Linked DNA regions of Homo sapiens: regions 1 and 3 are each linked to region 2. The links are contacts of gene promoters, found by promoter capture Hi-C in human tissues and cell types (Jung and others, 2019). All regions are on one chromosome and are shown on one strand. The core of a region is centred on a gene start or on the middle of the fragment in contact, and the rest is flanking DNA. Distances in the headings are between cores, read along the strand shown.

Evidence for each region. The method cuts DNA at HindIII sites, captures the fragments that hold promoters and counts their contacts. A contact is called where the count stands out against the background at its distance.
Region 1: a contact is called between a fragment that was not itself captured here and the fragment with the promoter of RPL8 in region 2, in 3 of the 25 tissues and cell types used here (H1 embryonic stem cells, lymphoblastoid cells and small bowel).
Region 3: a contact is called between a fragment that was not itself captured here and the fragment with the promoter of RPL8 in region 2, in 1 of the 25 tissues and cell types used here (dorsolateral prefrontal cortex).

Annotation. Positions count from the first base shown.
Region 1 is chr8:145,019,045-145,022,797 of GRCh38, forward strand. It overlaps the pseudogene LOC124902043. Among named protein-coding and RNA genes, the nearest start is that of ZNF252P-AS1, 18 kb to the left of the region's middle. The HindIII fragment of the contact is 6,395 bases long and covers 1-3,753 here.
Region 2 is chr8:144,790,901-144,794,619 of GRCh38, forward strand. RPL8 (ribosomal protein L8) reads right to left here and starts at 1,490. Exons shown (of 5, transcript NM_001317782.2): 1 at 1,092-1,490; 2 at 873-1,014; 3 at 377-595. The coding sequence starts at 1,229. MIR6850 (microRNA 6850) reads right to left here and starts at 1,091; the gene lies at 1,031-1,091. RefSeq lists enhancers at 1-169, 2,582-3,530 and a silencer at 1,192-1,411. The HindIII fragment of the contact is 17,129 bases long and covers 1-3,719 here.
Region 3 is chr8:144,657,994-144,661,864 of GRCh38, forward strand. The region is part of intron 1 of ARHGAP39 (Rho GTPase activating protein 39); the gene reads right to left. Among named protein-coding and RNA genes, the nearest start is that of ARHGAP39, 26 kb to the right of the region's middle. The HindIII fragment of the contact is 7,618 bases long and covers 1-3,871 here.

The DNA of each region.
Region 1 (3,753 bases), core at 47-2,546, 230 kb after region 2:
CTCAGCTGCAGGTCTGTTGGAGTTTGCTGGAGGTCCACTCTAGATCCTGTTTGCCTGGATATGACCAGTAGAGGCTACAGAATAGCGAATATTGCAGAATAGCAAATGTTGCTGCCTGATCATTCCTCTGGAAGCTTCATCTCAGAGGGGTACCCGGCCGTGTGAGGTATCAGTCAGCCCCTACTGGGAGGTGCCTCCCAGTTAGGGTACTCAGGTGTCAGGGAGCCACTTGAGGAGGCAGTCTGTTTGTTCTCAGATCTCAAACTCCATGCTGGGAGAACCACTACTCTCTTCAAAGCTGTCAGACAGGGACATTTAAGTCTGCAGAAGATTCTGCTGCCTTTTGTTCAGCTATGCCCTGCACCCAGAGGTGGAGTCTGCAGAGGCTGGTAGGCCTCCTTGAGCTGCAGTGGGCTCCATCCAGTTCAAGCTTCCCAGCCGCTTTGTTTACCTACTGAAGTCTCAGCAATGGTGGGCGCCCCTCCCCCAGCCTTGCTGCCACCTTGCAGTTCGATCTCAGACTGCTGTGCTAGCAATGAGCAAGGCTCCATGGGTGTGGGACCCTCCAAGCCAGGTGTAGGAAATAATCTCCTGGTGTGCCATTTGCTAAGACCATTGGAACAGCACAGTATTAGGGTGGGAGTGACCCGATTTTCCAGGTGCCATCTGTCACAGCTTCCCTTGGCTAGGAAAGGGAATTCCCTGACCCCTTGCACTTCCCAGGTGAGGTGGTGCCTTGCCCTGCTTCAGGTCTCACTCGGTGGGCTGCACCCACTGTCCTGCACCCACTGTCTGACAAGCTCCAGTGAGATGAACCTGGTATTTCAGTTGGAAATGCAGAAATCACCTGTCTTCTGCATCGCTCATGCTGGGAGCTCTAGACTGGAACTGTTCCTATTTGGCCATCTTGGAACCTCCCATGTAGGTTACCATTTTTAGGGGTGGTCACTGTTGAGCCTCCAAGTCCTATTCCCTTAAAATGGAAGACCCAAAATCCTGTTTGGGTTGAGCTGTGGCCACTTACTCAGGAAAAATTGGGGGCCTTACAGGAATTAGTCAAAGAGCAATTAAACAAAGGAAGCATTGAGCCCACATTTTCTCCATAGAATTTGCCGGTGTTTGTAATAAAGAAAAAATCCAGCAGATGGCGCATGCTAACCGACTTACGTGTGGTGAACACATTCATTCAGCTGATTGGGGCCCTGCAGCTGGGGCTTCTATCCCCCACCATGATTCCTAGAGACTGGCCATTAGTAATTATAGATTTGAAGGATTGCTTTTTAAATATTCTTCTAGCAGAGTCTGATTTTGTGAAATTTGCTTTTACTATTCCTGCTATGAACAACAAGGAACCAGCAGCCAGATATCATTGGAAAGTCCTGCTGCAGGATATGTTGAATAGTCCTACTATTTGTCAAACTTTTGTGGGGAAGGCTATTCCACCTGTGAGAGATCAGTTTCCTGATTCATATATCATTCATTTTATGGATGACATATTGGGTACGGTCAAAAGTTAAGACTGACTTATCCAGTGTTATTCATATTTACAGGAGGTGGTAGCCAATGCTGGATTGCTCATAGCACCAGATAAAATTCAAACATCCACTCCTTTCCAATATTTGGGAATGCAGGATCAGGAAAGGGCAATTAGACCCCAAGAGGTTCAAATTCAAAAAGACTCTCTGAAAACTTTAAATGATTTTCAAAAATTATTAGGGGATATCAATTGGATTTGACCTCCTTTGGGAATCCCTACCTATGCTATGTCTAATCTGTTCTCTATTTTAAGAGGTGACCCTGCTCTCAATAGTAAATGAGAACTGACTCCTGAGACTGCCAAAGAATTACAAATGATTGAAGAAAAAATACAACAGGCCCAGGTTAATAGAATAGACTCAAATTTACCATTACAGTTCATTGTGTTCCCTACTCTCCATTCTTCTACAGGGGTTACAGTTCAGAGTGAGGACTTAGTTGAATGGTCTTTTCTGCCTCACAATACTGTTAGAACACTCACAGTATACTTGGATCAGATGGCAATCTTGATTGGGCAAGCTCACCTTAGAGTTGTTAAACTTTGTGGCTCAGATCCAGATAAGATTATAGTTCCAATGAATAAAAATCAGATTTGGAAAGCCTTTGTTAATTCAGTCAATTGGCAAATAGATTTAGCTGGCTTCATTGGAGTTCTTGATAATCTGAAGGGGTGGCCTGCCCCTCCACACCTGTGGGTATTTCTAGTCAGGTGGGATGGGAGACTGAGAAAAGAAATAAGACACAGTGACAAAGTATAGAGAAACAACAGTGGGCCCAGGAGAGCGGCACTCGGCACACCAAGGACCTGCACCGGCACCGGTCTCTGAGTTCCCTCAGTTTTTATTGATTATTATTTTCATGATTTCAGCAGAAAGGAATGTAGTAGGAGAGCAGGGTGATAATAAGGAGAAGGTCAGCAAAAAGCATGTGAGCAAAGGAATCTATGTCATAATTAAGTTCAAGGGAAAGTACTATGCCTGGATGTGCACATAGGCCAGATTTATGTTTCTCTCCACCCAAACATCTCAGTGGAGTAAAGAATAACAAGGCAGCATTGCTGCCAACATGTCTCACCTCCCACCATAGGGCGGTTTTTCTCCTATCTCAGAATTGAACAAATGTACAATCGGGTTTTATACCAAGACGTTCAGTTCCCAGGGGCAGGCAGGAGACAGTGGCCTTCCTCTATCTCAACTGCAAGAGGCTTTCCTCTTTTACCAATCCACCTCAGCACAGACCCTTTACGGGTGTCGGGCTGGGGGACAGTCAGGTCTTTCTCATCTCATGAGGCCATATTTCCGACTATCACATGGGGAGAAACCTTGGACGATACCCAGCTTTCAAGGGCAGAGTTCCCTGTGGGTTTCTGCAGTGCATTATGCCTGTGGTTTGTTGACACTAGAGAATGGCAATGACTTTTGCCAAGTATACTGCTTGTAAACATTTTGTTAACAAGGCACATCCTGCACAGCCCTAGATCCCTTAAACCTTGACTTCATACAACACATGTTTTTATGAGCTCCAGGTTGGGTCAAAGTGGCTGGGGCAAAACTACAAATTAACAACATCTGAGCAAAGCAATTGTTCAAAGTACAGGTCTTTTTCAAAATGGAGTCTCTTATGTCTTCCCTTTCTACATAGACACAGTAACAGTCTGATCTCTCTCTCTTTTCCCTACATATCCCCCTTTTCTTTTTGACAAAACCGCCATCATCATCATGGTCCGTTCTCGCTAGCCGCTGTCTCTCCGGAGCTGCTGGATACACCTGTAGACTAACAATAGAGAGGACAGACATACAAGGATTAATACAAAATTTGCAATAGTGGAATTTCCAATGGTTTTAACCCAAGTGACAGGTTTAAGATTCGTGAGGCTATCAACAGCTTTTTCCATTGCCTCAGTTTCTGGCACCAAATTTAACTGGGCTTTGGATGTTTTAAAAATTTGTTCTTTCAATTTTGAAATATCTAAAGTAAGATTATCTTCTCTTCCTTGTAGATGGCATCTAACCATGTCCCAGTGATGTTCAGATTCATTATAGGCTTGAGGTGTAATACAAAAATCTGATGTATTGTAGTCACACAGTAACTGAAAAAGATATTCCAAACTTATGAGCCTATCTCCCATCCAAATGACAGTTTGTCTAAGATCATTAATTTGATTTGCCAATTTTTGATCTATTTGAGTCTGAGAATTCCACAATTTTGAGGAATTCT
Region 2 (3,719 bases), core at 240-2,739:
CCTAGACTCAAATCCTTTTTCACTCACTCAGTAGGCGTCTTTGAGAAAGCCACAATCTCTCCCTGCCTTCTCTAAAAAGGCTGTTAACCAACTGCATGCAAGTGCAGCAATCAGGAAGCCCACGGTAGAATCCAAGACCCTGGTGACTTCGTCCCAATCTCATTTAACGCCTCAACAGCAGTAAAGCAGGTACTGTTGTGCCTGTTGTACAGTGATGACAACTGAGACTACAGGATGAGCTCAAACTTACAGAACCCAAGTTTTAGAACAACAGGTAATCGAATTCCAGGGACCAAGTCTAGCCACTGGCTGTCCACCGGCACTCACAGCATGTTCACCCACAGCCCTCAGCATTCAACTGCTGCCTGATACTCACCAACCACAGCTCTGTTGGCTGAGGAGATAACCTTCTTGGAGCCGGAGGGCAGCTTCACACGGGTCTTCTTGGTCTCAGGGTTGTGGGAGATAACGGTGGCATAGTTCCCTGATGCCCGGGCCAGCTTGCCACGGTCTCCAGGCTTCTCCTCCAGGCAGCACACGATTGTACCCTCAGGCATGGTGCCCACAGGGAGCACATTGCCAATGTTGAGCTGGGCTGCAAGGGGAAGCAGCATCAGGCCGTCAGCACAGTAAGAAACAATGCGAACCCCCTCGCTCTAGGCAACCCGCGAAGTTGCGAGCACAGCATTCAACATCCAGCCTCCCGGTACAACTCTCTCGGCACCCACCGGTGGCCACTGGTCTGGCCACGCGGATGTCCCCACCTGAAGCTTCTGCCTGCGAGGTTCCCATATCGGCTTAGGACGTTAACTCCTCAGGCAACACCCAGACCCCTCCCCACCCCGACCTTCCTTCCCCGCCGCGATGCTAACCCTTCTTGCCGCAATACACAAACTGGCCCGTGTGAATGCCCTCGGCGGCAATGAACAGCTCCGTCCGCTTCTTAAACCGATACGGATCCCGGAAGACCACCTTGGCGAGGGGCGCGCCGCGGCCCGGGTCGTGGATGATGTCCTGTGGGCAGAGGCGGCGTGAGTGCGGCGTTCCGGCCGGGCGTCCCTTCCCCTCCCGCCCCGGCCAGCGTTCCGCACCTTGACGATGCCCTTGATGTAGCCGTGCCGCTCAGCGAAATCCACGGCGCGCAGGCGCGCAGCGCCTTTACGGTGCTTCACGTGCGCGCGGAACACAGACCCGGCGCCCTTCCTCTGTCCACGGATCACACGGCCCATGGCGACGGGTCCTGGGGGCGACTCACGATTAGCGCGGCCGGGCGGCCCGGGTACCCCCGCCAGCCCGGCTTTCCGGGACCCCGCCCCCGAGGCCGCCGCGCCCACCACTCCCTACCCTCTCCGCGGGCGCCCGCACCGGCATCCTCTCAGGAGGGCCGGTCCGGGTCTCAGCGCGCCTCACGGAAGAGGATGGCGGCGGATACTGCCCATGCCGCAAGGCCGCAAGGATGACCTACCTGTTCACCAGCGCGGCCGAAAGAGGAAACACGGCGTCAGCGAGCGGCCTTATCTTCCGGGGCGGGGCCCAGGGCCGCGACACCTTCCGGGCGCGCCACGGCCAGCCTAGCGCGGTGCACGCCGGGGCTTGTAGTCACCAGCGGCCGCCGGCCCCGCCTACTTCTCCTCCTCCAGGGCCCCCGCGCAGGCGCACCAGGAGACGCGGCTGAAGGTGTCCTGGTGTGCGTGGGCTCGGAAGGAGGGTGCAGGAGTGCTCGGCTTTCACCGGGGTCTCCGGGAGGGCAGGTGTTTTCTGAGTGGCCGAGGAGGCGCCAAGTGGTTGAGTGACCTGTCCAGGGTGTCACAGAGCGACCCACTCCGGGCCACGGGGTCTGGGGCTCCCGGCTTGCCTGGTGAGGGGCTTCCGTGTAGGCCGAGGGGGTTCTCGCTGGTGCAGAGCAGGAGATGGGCAGGGGAGACGCGTGGACCCACTCGTGGAACGTCATGGTTTGCAGGTGGCAAATGTCCGTCTCCCTGATGAACGGGCGCTTCTGGACGCGGGGACCTTATCCACTGTAGGCCCTTGGAGAGGTCGGGCGTCGAGGAGAGGAGCCCCGGGATCCTTGCCGAGGGTGAGGGCCGGCCGGCCCAGGAAGTGGGGAGGGCCAAGCTGGAGGGTCCCGGGTCGAGGAAGAAGGAGCGGGGATGGGCTGGGTCACATGCTGCGGAGTGGACGAATAATGGGAGACTGGACCGTACCCTGACCAGAACCCTGTGCGGGAGAGGTGGGGAAGGAGCAAGAAATGGAGGCTGGGAGGGGCTGTGGGGGCCTGAGCTGGAAAGAGTCAGCCCGACTGGGGGTGTCCTGCGGTACGTGCTGTGGAGAGGGGCTTCGCGGAATCGGGCCCCTAACGGGTGGGACCCCGAGGCCGCGGGTGGGGGATGGTGGGGAAGAGGTTTTCCAGGAGAGAGTCCCTGGCTGAGTGAGCACTGTCGAGCACACGCGAGGCCGTGGGTGGGGAGGCAGCAAGGAGGTGAAGGCGGGGGTCCCAGTGGGCGGGAGAGGCTTGCTGTCGGTACTGGGAGGTGGGGTGTTTCCTAGACCCTGCAGGGGCTGAGGCAGGGTTGACATCGTGAGAAGGAGACAGGAGAGGGTGGAAGGGTGTCCTGTGCCCGCTGTTGCTCACAGGGGAGAGGAGGGGCTGCTGCAGGAGGCCCTCCCCTAGGGTCGGCAGGGGGATGGAGGAGGAGCTGCCCGGTGGGGACTCAGGAAGCAGCACAGCCCACAGCTAGGGCCAGGGGCTGAGGGGCAGGACTGGACCCTGGGGGCAGGGTGAGGGGTTCTGGGGTCAGCCCAAAATTGGCCCACAGGCCCAGCCTGTCCGTCACTCCTGAACAAATCTGCTTCTCTGGAGGAGCAGAAGGAGAGTTGGGTGCGGGATAGAGGTGAGAAGAGTGCTTGGACACACAGGCTGTGGGGTCCCCAAGATGGTCTCACGGGTCTCTGGGATGAGATGCGGCTACCAAGACCCTACGTGCAGCCAGGAGACTGACCAGGCCGCTTTAAGGCTGGAAGAGACATGGCCCTGCCAGCATCCACCTGACAGTCCTGAGGACTGTGTGACTGGGCTCAGTCTTGACCTTCACGGGAGACCACACAGCCTGGTACACAGCAGGGGCTATGCAGTTCTGGGTCACTTGACAGCCACTCCAGACGAGGCCGCAAGCACTGGACATGGGGTTTTCCAGCCTTCTGGGGTGGAGCCATCTTTCTTAGGCCAGGATTAGTCCCTCCCCACACAGTGCCTCTGCTTGTGCTAGTGGCCTGGTGACCTCCCTTATGCCATCCGACGTCACCCCAACCTGCTGTTCAAACTTTATTGTTAGAAATTATTTATTTCCGGCCGGGTGCGGTGGCTCATGCCTGTAATCCCAGCACTTTGGGAGGCCGAGGCAGGCGGATCACCTGAGGTCAGGAGTTCCAGACTAGCCTGATCAATATGGACAAACCCCGTCTATACTAAAAATACAAAAGTTAGCTGGGTATGGTGGCAGGTACCTGTAATCCCAGCTACTCGGGAGGCTCAGGCAGGAGAATCACTGAAACCCAGGAGGTGGAGGTTGTGGTGAGCTGAGATTGTGCCATTGCACTCCAGCTTGGGAAACAAGCGCAAAACTGTGCCTCAAAAAAAAAGTTATTTCCTTCTGAAATTGTTCTTCAAATGTTTCTTGTCACATACATGCAGCAGTAATTTGGTAGAAACATGAGAAATT
Region 3 (3,871 bases), core at 1,129-3,628, 130 kb before region 2:
ATAACAGCTATTTACATAGCATTAACACTGCACTGGATATTAAAATTAATCTAGGGATGATTTAAAGTACACAGGATGATATATATAGGTTATATATCAATCCTACAGCATTTCTTTCTTTCTTCTTTCTTTCGAGACAAGGTTTTGCTCTTTTTGCCCAGGCTGGAGTGAAATGGCGCGATCTTGGCTCACTGTAACCTCCGCCTCCCAGGTTCAGGTGATTCTCCTGCCTCAGCCTCCCAAGTAGCTGGAATTACAGGTGTCCACCACCACACCCGGCTAATTTTTTTTTTTTTTTGAGACAGAGCTTTGCTCTTGTTGCCCTGGCTGCAGTGCAATGGTGCGATCTTGGCTCACCACAACCTCCACCTCCTGGGTTCAAGCAATTCTCCTGCCTCAGCCTCCCAAGTAGCTGGGATTACAGGCATGTGCCACCATGCCCAGCTAATTTTGTATTTTTTAGTAGAGATGGGATTTCTCCATGTTGGTCAGGCTGGTCTCTAGCTCCTGACCTCAGGTGATCTGCTCGCCTCGGCCTCCCAAAGTGCTGGGATTATAGGTGTGAGCTACTGCGCCTGGCCACTACAGCATTTTTTAATCAGGGACCTGATCATCCTTGAATTTTGGTATCCACAGGGTGTCCTAAAACCATTCCCCATGGACACTGAGGGATGACTGTGTATCATAACAAACAGCGAAAGACTGACTGCTTTCCCCTCACTACTCTAACATGACACATTACCGGAGGTCCTAGCCAGTGCAATAAGGCAGGAAAAAGAAAAGGTAGAAGGATTAGGAAAGAAGAAATAAAACTATATTCATAGACAAAATGATTATATATGTAAAAAAATTAAAACATTAAATATTAATGTTTAATATTGGGGTAAATATTAAATTTAACCAATATTAGAAATAAGTTTGGCAAAATACATGCACTGAGTAGTACAAAGTACTGATGAAAGACATTTAAGAGGACCTGAATCATGGGGAGGTGTACCAGGTTCATGGATGTGGCAGCCCAACAGGGTTAGGGTGTAATAGCCCCATTGTCTTTCTGTCCAATCCTATTCTGTTCACTCACTCCACAGGTGCTAATCCCAAAAGCATTCCTCAGTAAACTTCCTAAAGACAAATCAACTCAGAGTCCACTTCCCAGGGAACTCGACACAAACAGCAATTAATAATATACACTGTAAAGGACATAATTACTGTAATCAAAATGACAGGCAGCTAGATAACCAGCAACATGCTGACCAGAGCCATTAGCCTACCACCAGCCTAACCACACATTCACACCCTGAAGGCTTGGAGGAAACACCTGGTAACTCCCAACACGTGCTGGGAAGCTGCTCATTTGAAGAATGCTTCTTAACACAATTAGATATGATCAAACGATGTTGCCTTTTTCAATCGTTTTTGACCTACAAAAAACTAAAGTTTCACGTGTTCAACTTTCTGTTTCCATTGAGTCCTGTCTTAACCATGACAAAACGTCTCTGAGGCCAATGAGTGCCCACTTTTCAATCACACCAGCCCTCTGATCTAAGAGTGGAGAGACAAGTGTTATTTCTAAGTCAATGTTCCAAGTTCAAGCTTAATTGGAGGACATTTTCTAGACTATTTCATGGGACCTAAACAAAGCAATCAGAGAATCCCAAACAATTTTTTGCAAAATCTTCCGGCCTTGGCTTATTCGCTGGTTCTGATGCTCTGCCACCCCTTCACAGCTCACTGACACATGCTCTCTGCAGAGCTAAGCTAACAATTGCTTCTCTCATCCCCATTCTCTGGCTGTCTTGAGGGGTCCACTTATTCAAGCCCCACTCTAACTGTGGGACGCCCCAAGATGCATTTCCCTCTACATGCTACCCTTTGAACTCCTCATTCTGTTCCCCCAGTCTCCGTTATAATCCCTCTGTAGCTAAGTCCCAATTCTCTACCCAACCACCTCTCTCCCAAATGCCAGGTTCACCTCAGTTTACAAATGCCAGATGGACATTCCTTGGGTGGTGTTCCCTCACCTGAATCACAATGCTCCTCCTCCCCAGATCACTCTTCCCAACCACCACATGCACTTGCATTGTGCATCTCTTTCTGTCCACAGCACATGCCACTCTGCCCCCGACCCCTGGGTCAAAGGTGTGGAATGCTCCCGTGTCTCCTCCTCCTGGACCCTAGGTCTCCACCACTGTCCATCCCATCCAGGGCACCTTGGCGTCAGCTCTGCAGCACCTATTCCCACAAGCCTGAATGGTCTCTCACAAATTCAAGACTGAATTCCCTCTTGCTGGCCTCTGGTTAAATAATATAAGATTATTCATGCTTTCAGCCTTTCCTCCCCTAACCCCATCTCACCCCTACTACCATATTAAAGAATCTCCAAAAAAGCCAGCCAAGGTCACATCACTTTCATCGTGATAAGCATTCACTGGTGCCTCTAAAATAAAGGGACAATCCTTGCATGAGCACATTCCTTGGAACTGCACTGTGCAACACACTAGTCACTTGTCACTATGCTTAAAGTAAAGTTGAGTAATATTTAATACTCAGTCTTGCAAGCCATGATTCCGTGCTCAGCAGCCACACATAGGACAGCAGGCTCTAGAAAACACTTCTCTCAGGATCTTGGCCCAGACTGACTTCCTACTTCTGCTCTGTTCCAATAAAAACCATCTCTAAATAAATAAATGAATAATTTTTTAAAAGGCTGGGTGGGTGGCTCACCCCTATAATCCCAGCACTTTGGGAGGCCGAGGCAGGCAGATCACTTGAGGTCAGGAGTTTGAGACCAGTCTGGCCAACATGGTGAAATCCTGTCTCTACTAAAAATACAAAAAAAACTTAGCTGAGAGTGGTGGTGTCCATCTGTAGTCCCAGCTACTCGGGACGCTGAGGCAGGAGAATTGCTTGAACCTGGGAGGTGGAGGTTTGCAGTGAGCTGAGATTGTGCCATCGCACTCCAGCCTGGGTGACAGAATGAGACTCCATCTCAAAAAAAAAATAGGCATGGTGGCACACGACTCTGTAGTCCCAGCTGCTCAGGAGACTGAGGCAGGAGGATCACCTGTGCCCAGGAGATGGAGGCTGCAGTCCAGTCTGGCTGCAGACGGCCCTCTCAGCACCGCCGTGAAAACACATGCAGTCCTACACAGGGTCCCAGCAGCTTCACCCACTCCGGGACCACCATGGCCCCTTCACACACAGGCAGTGTGGAGCAGAGGAGGCCATTCCACTCTACACACAGGAGGAGGCCATTCCACTCTACACACACAAGGCTCCCAAAGCTCTGTGAGCAACATCTCAGCCTCTCCCCGGCTCCTCTTTGCGCATTCGCGCGTGACACTCCTGCAGAGGTGGGCTCCACACACCAGCCACCTGGCCTCGGTCTCTTTCCTTCTAACAGGAACAGCACCCTCACTCCTGTGATAGTCTCAACTCTCTTGGGCCCATGCTTACCTGGCAAACACCTGTGGTTAACCCAGCACTCCCCATCCACACCTGCCGCTAAACACATTCAGAGGAAAACAGCCTCTAACCAGCCTTCCCCTTTCTCCCCTCCCAATCCTCACACCAGCCCAAGGCCTGAGGCCATCTGGCCACCAGGCTGGTCTCGAACTCCTGCCCTCAACTGATCTGCCCGCCTCAGCCTCCCACAATACTGAGACTATAGGTGGGAGCCACCATACAAATGAATGAATGAACGAGACGGGGTTTGCTGTGTTGCCCAGGCTGGAGTGCAGTGGTGTGATCACAGCTCACTGCAGCCTTGGGCCACTACCCGCCTCTCCATTATCCACCTTGGACCCCTCCTGTGTCTCTATTATCCACCTTGAACTGTTCCCTCCTCCCCATTATCCACCTCGAACTGCTC